Regions from separate parts of the Homo sapiens genome. Here region 2 is linked to region 1. The links are contacts of gene promoters, found by promoter capture Hi-C in human tissues and cell types (Jung and others, 2019). All regions are on one chromosome and are shown on one strand. Each heading gives the region's core, a stretch centred on a gene start or on the middle of the fragment in contact. The rest is flanking DNA. Distances are from core to core; before and after follow the strand shown.

Region 1 (4,200 bases), core at 979-3,478:
CTCTTTCCAGCATGGTGAGTGGTCATGATTCAGCACGAAGGCTTCCAGAGACCCTTGACACACATCCGTATATTCAATACTCTCCCTTCACAAAGGCAAGGAAGTTCCCATCCAAATCTTTAGGTAACACATTTCAGCACTTAAATCTTAAGCATTTAATTATTCTGAGCCACCACTTAACCAGAGTAATTCTCAAATTGGCAGAAAAACTTCATGAGGGGAGAGGAGGAACGAGGAAGAGGTGATGTTATTTTGGTTTGTTTTTTCCCGCCCTCTCTCTGTCTTGTTTCTAGGAGAAAAACAAGTGGACATGTTCCAAGACTCCCAGCAGTGGGAGGGGCGTCAGATTAGTGCACAAATGTCTGCTTTAACCGTAATGTAGAGGAAATACAAGGAACTTGCATTAAATAAAAGATGCCCACAACACTACCAGACATACAGTAAGTGGTAACGAGTTCTGAGGGCCAGCCTGGCTGACACATCCCAATTTTGCATTTGAGGGGAAAAGTACTGTTCTCTGAGGGACAAGAGTGAAACCAGGAGGGGACCAGAACATAGCTCTACTTTCCCAGGGTAGCATTGAGGGGAGAGGTTGGCCAATAGTGGGCGTGAGAGATCACAGCTGGAGGAGATTTAGGGGATTAAGGAGGTGCGGTGCTGATATAATTACTCAGGTAGCCTTGAAGAGTTGCTTCAAAGAATGGAGAGCCTCCCTCCCCAGCACCTGTAGGCATTCATAGTACCCCTCTATTTCTGAGTGGTAGGAAATTTCCATAATTAATAGTTGAGAGAGAGAGAGAGAGAGAGAATACGAAAGAAGGGTGAGGAGCTGTCTCCAGCAGGTGACCCTGCGAGAGGGAAGGATGAGGAGTGAATAGAGAGGTTGGCAGAAGGCACCCCCGTCTCCCTCCTGACTCTCCCTACTTAGGAAGCCAGAGGAGACACACAGGAGGAGGCCACAGTTCTCACAGCCCCCAAAGGGAAAACACAGTTACCCTCCACAACACCAGGAAGTGACCCGAAGCGCTGAAATCAGCTACCCGAGTAGTGAAACCTAAGTCATGGTTGCTGTTCTGCCCCCAGAAGGGGAGCAGTCACCAGTTGTTCATCGCGACAGAGCAGATACACTCAAACCCCGGTGCCCTGTGCCAAGACGTGCCCACTTCACCTGCACACCCTCCTTGACCATCCGGCACGCGGCCCTGGGGCTTGATGAAGCCCTGCACCCAAAGTCCCTGGCAGAGGGATGAGTCACGAACTTGGGCCCTGGCAGCAGAGGGCTGGGTCGGCCAAGGCCAGATGGAGCTTGATTTGCAATTTCATCAGCCTGTTCCGCTCTGAGGAAAGGCACGATGTGATCTTGGTGTTGTCTAATTCACAGGCTCGCCCTGTTCTTAAAGGTGAAATTGCACTGTTTGCTAATTCTTCTAGTCCCCCAGAGAACTGGAGCTCAGAGGGATTGTTCTGACGCTGTAAGAGTAAGGAAAATGAGGTTTCGAAAATCAAAGCTGAATACAGGCTATCCCAGAGGAGTCTGCAGAGCGCAGCCTCGGGAGGCCCCGGCCAAGAGGCCTTGGCCTCCCGGTCCCAACCTGGCGCGCCGTCAGAGGTGCTGTCCCAGCCCGGGCGCTGGCGGTCCACGCACCGCTCCTACCTCGGGAGGACATCCGAAGGGTCACGGCCGCTGGACATGCTGTCTTTTGCAACCCCGGCCCCAGCAGGCCCTTTACAGTGAGGGGTCTCCCGCAAGAGAGGGCAAGAACCATCCTAAGCCCCGCTCGCGGAGGGCGGGAAAAGGGGAAGACGGCTAGGTTGGTCCTGCCCACCGGAAAGTCGGAAGAGTAAGAGTAGCAAGAAGCCTTGGGGCTGCAGGTGGGACCTCAGGGAGCCGTGTCTACTAGGAGGACGCGTGGACACGTCCCTCCTGGAGTTTCGATTCAAAATGCGCCCGAATGAGGTAGCGCCGCTCTCACTAGGAGCAAAAGATCCGTCCACGTCGGTTCCAGAAACCTCGTGTCCCCCAAGCCTGCCCGCCCGCCTCACCTGCCAGGCGGCTGAACTCGCGCGCCCGCAGCTCGCGCAGGCTGCCCGGGCCGTAGCCGTAGGCTAGCCGCGGTGCGCTCGGGTCCCGGGAACCCGCGAAGGTCCACAGCTCCCGCCCTGACTCCGCCGCCGCGCCGGCCATGGCCCCGGCTAGTCCATCCAGGCCGGCCGGGCCCGGGAAGTGCGCGAAGCCGGCCCCCGGCGACTCCGCCCCCGCCACGCCTCCCAGGCCTCCAGCCTCCCAGTCTCTCGGAATCCGCAGCCTAGGTGTGGCGCCCCGACCGGACTTTCACTTCTGGCCAGCCCTTTCCCCACCTGGGCGCGGGAGCGGGTGCCAGTCTTTAAACAACCTCTCGATGGGTCCCACGAAGATGTTTCCAGACCCTTGGAATGCCAAGTTCAAGTTTAGCTATGTCTCGCGGAGAGGCCGGTGGAAGAAGCAACGAGGTGATCTTTCCTGCTTGGCATCGGCATCCTGGAACCCCGCGACCCTCCTCCTCGCAGGGGTCTCGGGACCCTCACCCTCTCAAGCGGGAACCGGCGTCTGGCGGGGGCGGGGGTGGGGGCGTTCTCGGGTTGCTGCTACCCAGCGGGGCGTGTGCTTGCCGTTTGTTAGAATGCGGCTGACCAAAGGGTAGAAAAGGGGAAAGATTAGGGATCCACGAGGCTAATAAATTCTCAGTGGCTGCACACTTTCGGAACCGGGAAGCTCGGGGGCTTCCCCCGGAGCGGGCCCTGCAGCTGGGATCCAAGTGAGCTGAGCTTCCCCGCCCTCCCAACCGCGTCCTGGGCCCTACTTCCTGCCCTTGCCTCCCCAACCCTGCATCCCGCCCCGCACTTCCCGCACGTGGGTGTGGCCGGGCCCTCTCTATTAAAGCAAGAGTGCCCTAGGACAAAGCCGCCCCTGTCCCGGACAGAGTGGAATAAGAGCGCCTCCTTCAATCCCCACTCGCGCCTGCACCCAGAGCACCTGGGACACAGCGGCTCTGTCTTGGAGAACAGGTGCCTCAATAGGGAGGGCCTGGCCAAACCTATGCGCGGGAAGTGCGGAGCGGGATGCAGGGGTGGGGCGGCAGGTGCAGGTAGTAGAGCCCAGGCATGCGGTTGGGGGGTGGGGGGAAATCTCACGTGCGATCCCAGGTGCGGAACCCGCTGCTGGGAATGGGGTGGAAGCAAAACAGGTACTGCACGCACAGGCGAGGTGCCTCGTGGGGGAATCGAATGTCAGGGATGGTGGACAGTGCGGATGGGCGGCAGGTGCTGGGGCTCAGGGGAGATAACTCAGAGGCAGGCTCGGTGGAGAACCCAAGGCCGGCGACCAGGTGCAGGCGGCCCACAGGCCCTGGAGGCATACAGCGGGGGGACAAGGTGGGAAGGAGGCCTATGCCCCAAGAGCTCAACCTGTGCTGCATCCAGGCCAGCTGCCACCCAGGGTATGGGCCGCAGATGCCCTAGGATCCTTGCTGATGCATGATGCATACCGGTGCCCAGCGTGAGAGCCATGGGAAGGCAGCACGCAGCCCTGGCTCTCCCGCCCAGGCCCCTGATACCAGGCCAGAGAAAGACCCGCCACTAAGAGCTCATTTCCCCCTGGCCGGAGACCCAGGGGTCTGTGGACTGCAGCGCTAGGGTCCATGCCCAGGTACCCATATTCCTCAGTGGCCTCTGCCCACTGACCACCCCCGCTCTCTCCCTCACTGCTGAATGTCCAGGACCTTACTCGACAAACACCCATAGTTGTTCGAGGAGGAGTTAATGTACTGATGGATGGATGCAGGCATTTGCTCATTGACATCACTGCCCACCCCACCATCTGCTTGCCTTCTGGCCATGCTTCAAGCAGGCACTTTGGATACTGGACTGTCTTCTGTGAATGTGGCTTTGGGCAGCACTAATAACAAGAGCTAGTTACAGGGCCTCACTGTGTGCCAGGCACTGCACTGTGTACACTCTTACCTGTCCTGGTCGTTCAATGATTAAATATGCAGATCTAGGAGGTGGCTCTTACAGATGGGGAAGCTGAGGCAGAGAGAGGCAGAATAACTTGCACACGGGCACACAGCTAGAAGACAAGCTAGCACCTGGGAAGTCAGTCTCCAGAGCCCAGGCAGGGAAGTGTGTTTTGCTAACTCTCTGGTGTGAGCCACCGTGGTTCCC
Region 2 (4,322 bases), core at 864-3,363, 1.0 Mb before region 1:
GCAGACTTTACTCTTCCCATAAACTTACCTTCTCACATTTTCCCACCTTTGGCACTATCCCCACGGCAGCTTTTGTTCTCCTGTTTTACTGCCTCTTTCAGTCCTCCTTCTGGCCTTAATGTGTAGTCAGTCAGTCAGCTGAGGAGCTGAGATCCCAGATGATATGGTTGGACAGAAATGTGGGTTGTACCCCATTTTTGGCTAGTGAGACTTTGCTTTCTTTCAGCTGTCTTTGGGACTGTTTCTGGATCTATTGAGGACTGCACTGCACCTCTTTGGAGATGACTTGTGCGTCCTTGGTAAAGGCATAACCTTGGTTAAGGCTTATTGGTTTTGTTGAGTCTCTTGAGAAGGTGCCTTTGGTTTAAAACAACAACAACAACAACAACAAGGTCAAAAGCCATAAATAGTGGTTGTTTGTCCTGGCTGAATTCTGATAAAGAGATTTTAAAAGAATTTTAAAAAAAGCTCTATGCTCAGAAGTCAGCTTAATTAAAAGCTGATATTCAGGGTATACTTTTTTTTAAAGGCCTTTCTGCATTTTCTCTTTTGGATCCTGTTTCTTGAGAGGTGTTTTTTTTTTTTTTTTTTGACTGAAACTCCTTTTTAATTATGTGTTTGGTCTCTCTGCTTCCTTTCATATTGATATGATTTTAGTGAAAAAAATATAAAACTTCACTGGCCTTTTGGAAAGCTTAAACTCTTTCTCTGTGCTTTGAAATATAAATTTACTACCTTATGCTCTAAAACTCAGTAAGGGCTTTGGCCATGTGAGACTTTAGCCTGTTCCATTTACAAATGCACAGTTTGAATCCAACTATCCTTTTAAACTGGGGAGTTTTAATGGTTTTATGACTAAAAACTTAAAATCAAAGCTATAAAGTCTTTGTATTTTTATGTATACCTGTGTACATGTCTGTTTGTATATTGTCTATGATACCAAATTGACTTATAAATAAATGAGCATTCATAAATAAGCCCAAATACTTTTCAAGTTCACGTGACTTAGTAATCTTTGGTAAATAAAACTAGTTTAAAAATTGTTAGAATAAAATAGGCATGTTTTCTGAATTGTCAGTATTAAATATAATTCAAACATTTTGCCTGAGTCTACTGGTTTGACAGGTTTAGGTTGTCTCTGCTAGATGTTTTAAGGTCATAAAACTCTTGCTTCTCTGGTATTTTTAGATACGTCCTTGTCTGTGAGCTTATGTCTTAAAGCTCTCTTAGAATCTAGGTTCACCGGCCAGGCGTGGTGGCTCACGCCTGTAATCCCAGCACTTTGGGAGGCCGAGGCGGGCAGATCACAAGGTCAGGAGATCGAGACTATCCTGGCTAACATGGTGAAACCCCATCTCTACTAAACATACAAAAAAATTAGCTGCGTGTGGTGGCGGGCGCCTGTAGTCCCAGCTGCTGGGGAGGCTGAGGCAGGAGAATGGCATGAACCCGGGAGGCGGAGCTTGCAGTGAGCTGAGATGGCGCCACTGCACTCCAGCCTGGGCGACAGAGCGAGACTCCGTCTCAAAAAAAAAAAAAAAGAATCTGGGTTCTAGGTAGGTAGCCATGGAAAGGCCTGAGGGCATATGTATGACCACAGCACCTAGGCCAACAGCTGCAGGGCAAAGCCAAACCAGTATGCCCTCCCTGGCCTGGCTGTGCCTCCTGGCCATGCTGGGAAGGGTCAGATATACCAGATGTTATCCTCACAGACCTATCTTTTGTCTTGGGCTCTGTACCTGGTACTTAACATTAAAATTGCATACTTCCTAGGCTTTTCACTGAAAATTAGGGTTACTAGGAGTTAACCTTGTAATTAATATATGTAATTAAAACTACTAAAAAATAGAAACATTCTATATACAGAATATATAAGAAAAGTCAGATGTGTTTTTGGTAAGAAAGGTTATAAGAAAGACGAGGATTTTTTTTGTAATTTATAAGTTATTTAAAGGTTACTTTAAGTTGAAGCAATAAAAAAGGAATGATAGATAAAACCAAATGGATATAGAAAGTTGGGGAAAGAGAATGGGAAAAACTATAAAAGTTTATAAAATGTTTATGAAATGGAAAAAACTATAAAAGGTTTATGAAAATCTTATCTTGTGTGGTCAGAGCTGACTGAGATTGGGTGGATCTGTTTATAAGGTTTTGTTAAAATTAGTTTTAATATTAACAATACATTGATATGAAGGTAGAATTTAGTTTTCTCTTTTGAATATGATTTTCATACAGCATTAATAAGATATAATAAAAGATTTTGGTTTACCTTTTGAGTAAACTTTAAAAAAAAAAAAAGGAAAAGGGGGAGAAATAGATTCTGTTTGTGTCATGCTGTATTTATTAGGTCTCTTTGATTGTTGGGAAAACTGAGTCTCTTCTCTGTCCAAGAGTAAAGGTTTTTGCTTTTTGAAATCTTTGAATTATTGCTTTGGCTAAATGAATAATCATTAATTTATAATGACCTGTGATCTTACTTTTGATATCAAATGTTTTAAACCTTTGCTATTTGACATACTTCCCCAAATCAAATTTACGTTAAAATCATGCAAGACACATTGTCAAATAATAATGGTGTTTAACCTTGAGTCATATTTATATAAATATGTTATTAATATGCATTCCAAAATTGTATGATATTCTTAAATTCTGATATGTCTTGGTATATGTCATCAATCATATTGGTGATGATTATATTAAACTGTTGTTTGCCACAGAAATCACCAAATTTCCTTGTTAATTGTGTCTTTAACCACGGCTACTCTAAGTCTTTCATCATCCAGTGACAATTATTGTTTTACTATGATTCTTCCCAAAAAGTGGTTTACAGTTAGCTACAGTCCAAAATTTGCTTTTTCTTCAAGGAAATTCATGGAAAAGACACTGACAAGTACTCTTGAATACAAGTTTGTGATAACTTTGGAGATCATACCATTGGACCAGGTAAAACCCTTCAGAACTCTAAATAAAACAAACAAACAATAACTACAACAAACTGATGGGTTTACAAAGATTACCAACCCAATATAAAGCAGAGCAGGAATTAATTACATAGGACTGAACTGATAGAGGACTGAAATAATTTTGTTATAACCTTTCATTTGAAACACTTCTGATTCTTTTTATATTTGTTTTTTTGGAATCAAGAAAATTTTCTTTTGAGCCATTCATAGCTTAAAGCAACTGGGTAAAGTATGCTTTTGTTAAAAAAAAATGGAAGCATTTACCTTTCTCTAGGCCTGATTTCTCCAGAATTTGGAAATTATTCATGAGTATTCTTATTTTATGGCAATATAGTTGTTCACATAAGTTCAGTAAGAATGTGTTCTCTATTGTAACAGGTCACAATTGGAAATGCTGGTTATTTCACCAAGGCGTTGACGAATATCATATTTTTAAATGTGACCAGACTGTTTTGAGGAAATGAGGTTGCTTTTAGAAAGCCAACAGACTTGGTAAAAGACTGGTCCAGTACCTTGTCAATACAGTTCCCTGATACAATACAGAATCCCTACAAGGTTCCTGACCTTGAGATAAGTAAATAATGCCACTTTCTGATAGGCCAGGAATCTCAAGATATTCTGGGGACCTCAAGAAGAGTTCACCTATTTTGTACATGTATTACAGGCACAGTCTGATGGTGAATCCTTGGCTTTGCTTCTTAGCCTTGAGAGGTTTTTAAAAGTCTAATCTAAAATTCCTTATTAAAAAGTTCCAGTAAAGCCAACTTAAAAGAATACTATACGGCCAACCACTATTCTTACTGCCCTTTATGCAAACAATCATACCAGGTATAGTAAGACTAAAACTTATTTTGCAAATAAGCTGGCCTTACTATGACTTCTCTTTGGTAAAAAAGGGGAACTGGAGAGAGAAAAATTATATTTCAGAAGAAAACTATAACATACCTGTTATAGATTCCAGCCCTGCTTTTATTATTTTTCTACAATTTAGACTGAATCCTGAATTATTTCCTGGCTACAAGTCTCTAGAAAAAAAAGAACCTGATTTAAATTTTCTTTATGATGTTTTTTCATTGGCACCCTAGTAGAATAGATTATTTTTCCATTTTAGCATACAGATTTTCTTTTTGATTGTAACCTTGTGTGCAATGTACTTCTACCATTCAAATTACTAATGTTATGTATCTCTCATTGTTTTACTTTTGAGAAAATTATAATCATGGAATTATAAAGACTAAAGATGTTTCAACAAGCAAGAGCAGTGATATAGATCAAAGATTTCACTAAGATCTTTTTGCCACACTGTGATGTCATCCCAATTTAGATTTTGGGTGCTCCTAAAAATTCCTCACTGAGACA

Evidence for each region. The method cuts DNA at HindIII sites, captures the fragments that hold promoters and counts their contacts. A contact is called where the count stands out against the background at its distance.
Region 2: a fragment that was not itself captured here is called in contact with the fragment with the promoter of MOCOS in region 1 in 1 of the 25 tissues and cell types used here (dorsolateral prefrontal cortex).

Annotation. Positions count from the first base shown.
Region 1 is chr18:36,185,525-36,189,724 of GRCh38, reverse strand. It overlaps MOCOS (molybdenum cofactor sulfurase), which reads right to left and starts at 2,228. Exons shown (of 15, transcript NM_017947.4): 1 at 2,044-2,228. The coding sequence starts at 2,185. It overlaps COSMOC (cell fate and sterol metabolism associated divergent transcript of MOCOS), which reads left to right and starts at 2,290. Exons shown (of 2, transcript NR_134605.1): 1 at 2,290-2,490. RefSeq lists silencers at 2,126-2,315, 2,161-2,424 and an enhancer at 3,184-4,006. The HindIII fragment of the contact is 25,317 bases long and covers 1-4,200 here.
Region 2 is chr18:37,201,032-37,205,353 of GRCh38, reverse strand. All of the region lies in intron 9 of KIAA1328, which reads right to left. Among named protein-coding and RNA genes, the nearest start is that of SNORA111, 260 kb to the left of the region's middle. The HindIII fragment of the contact is 4,141 bases long and covers 43-4,183 here.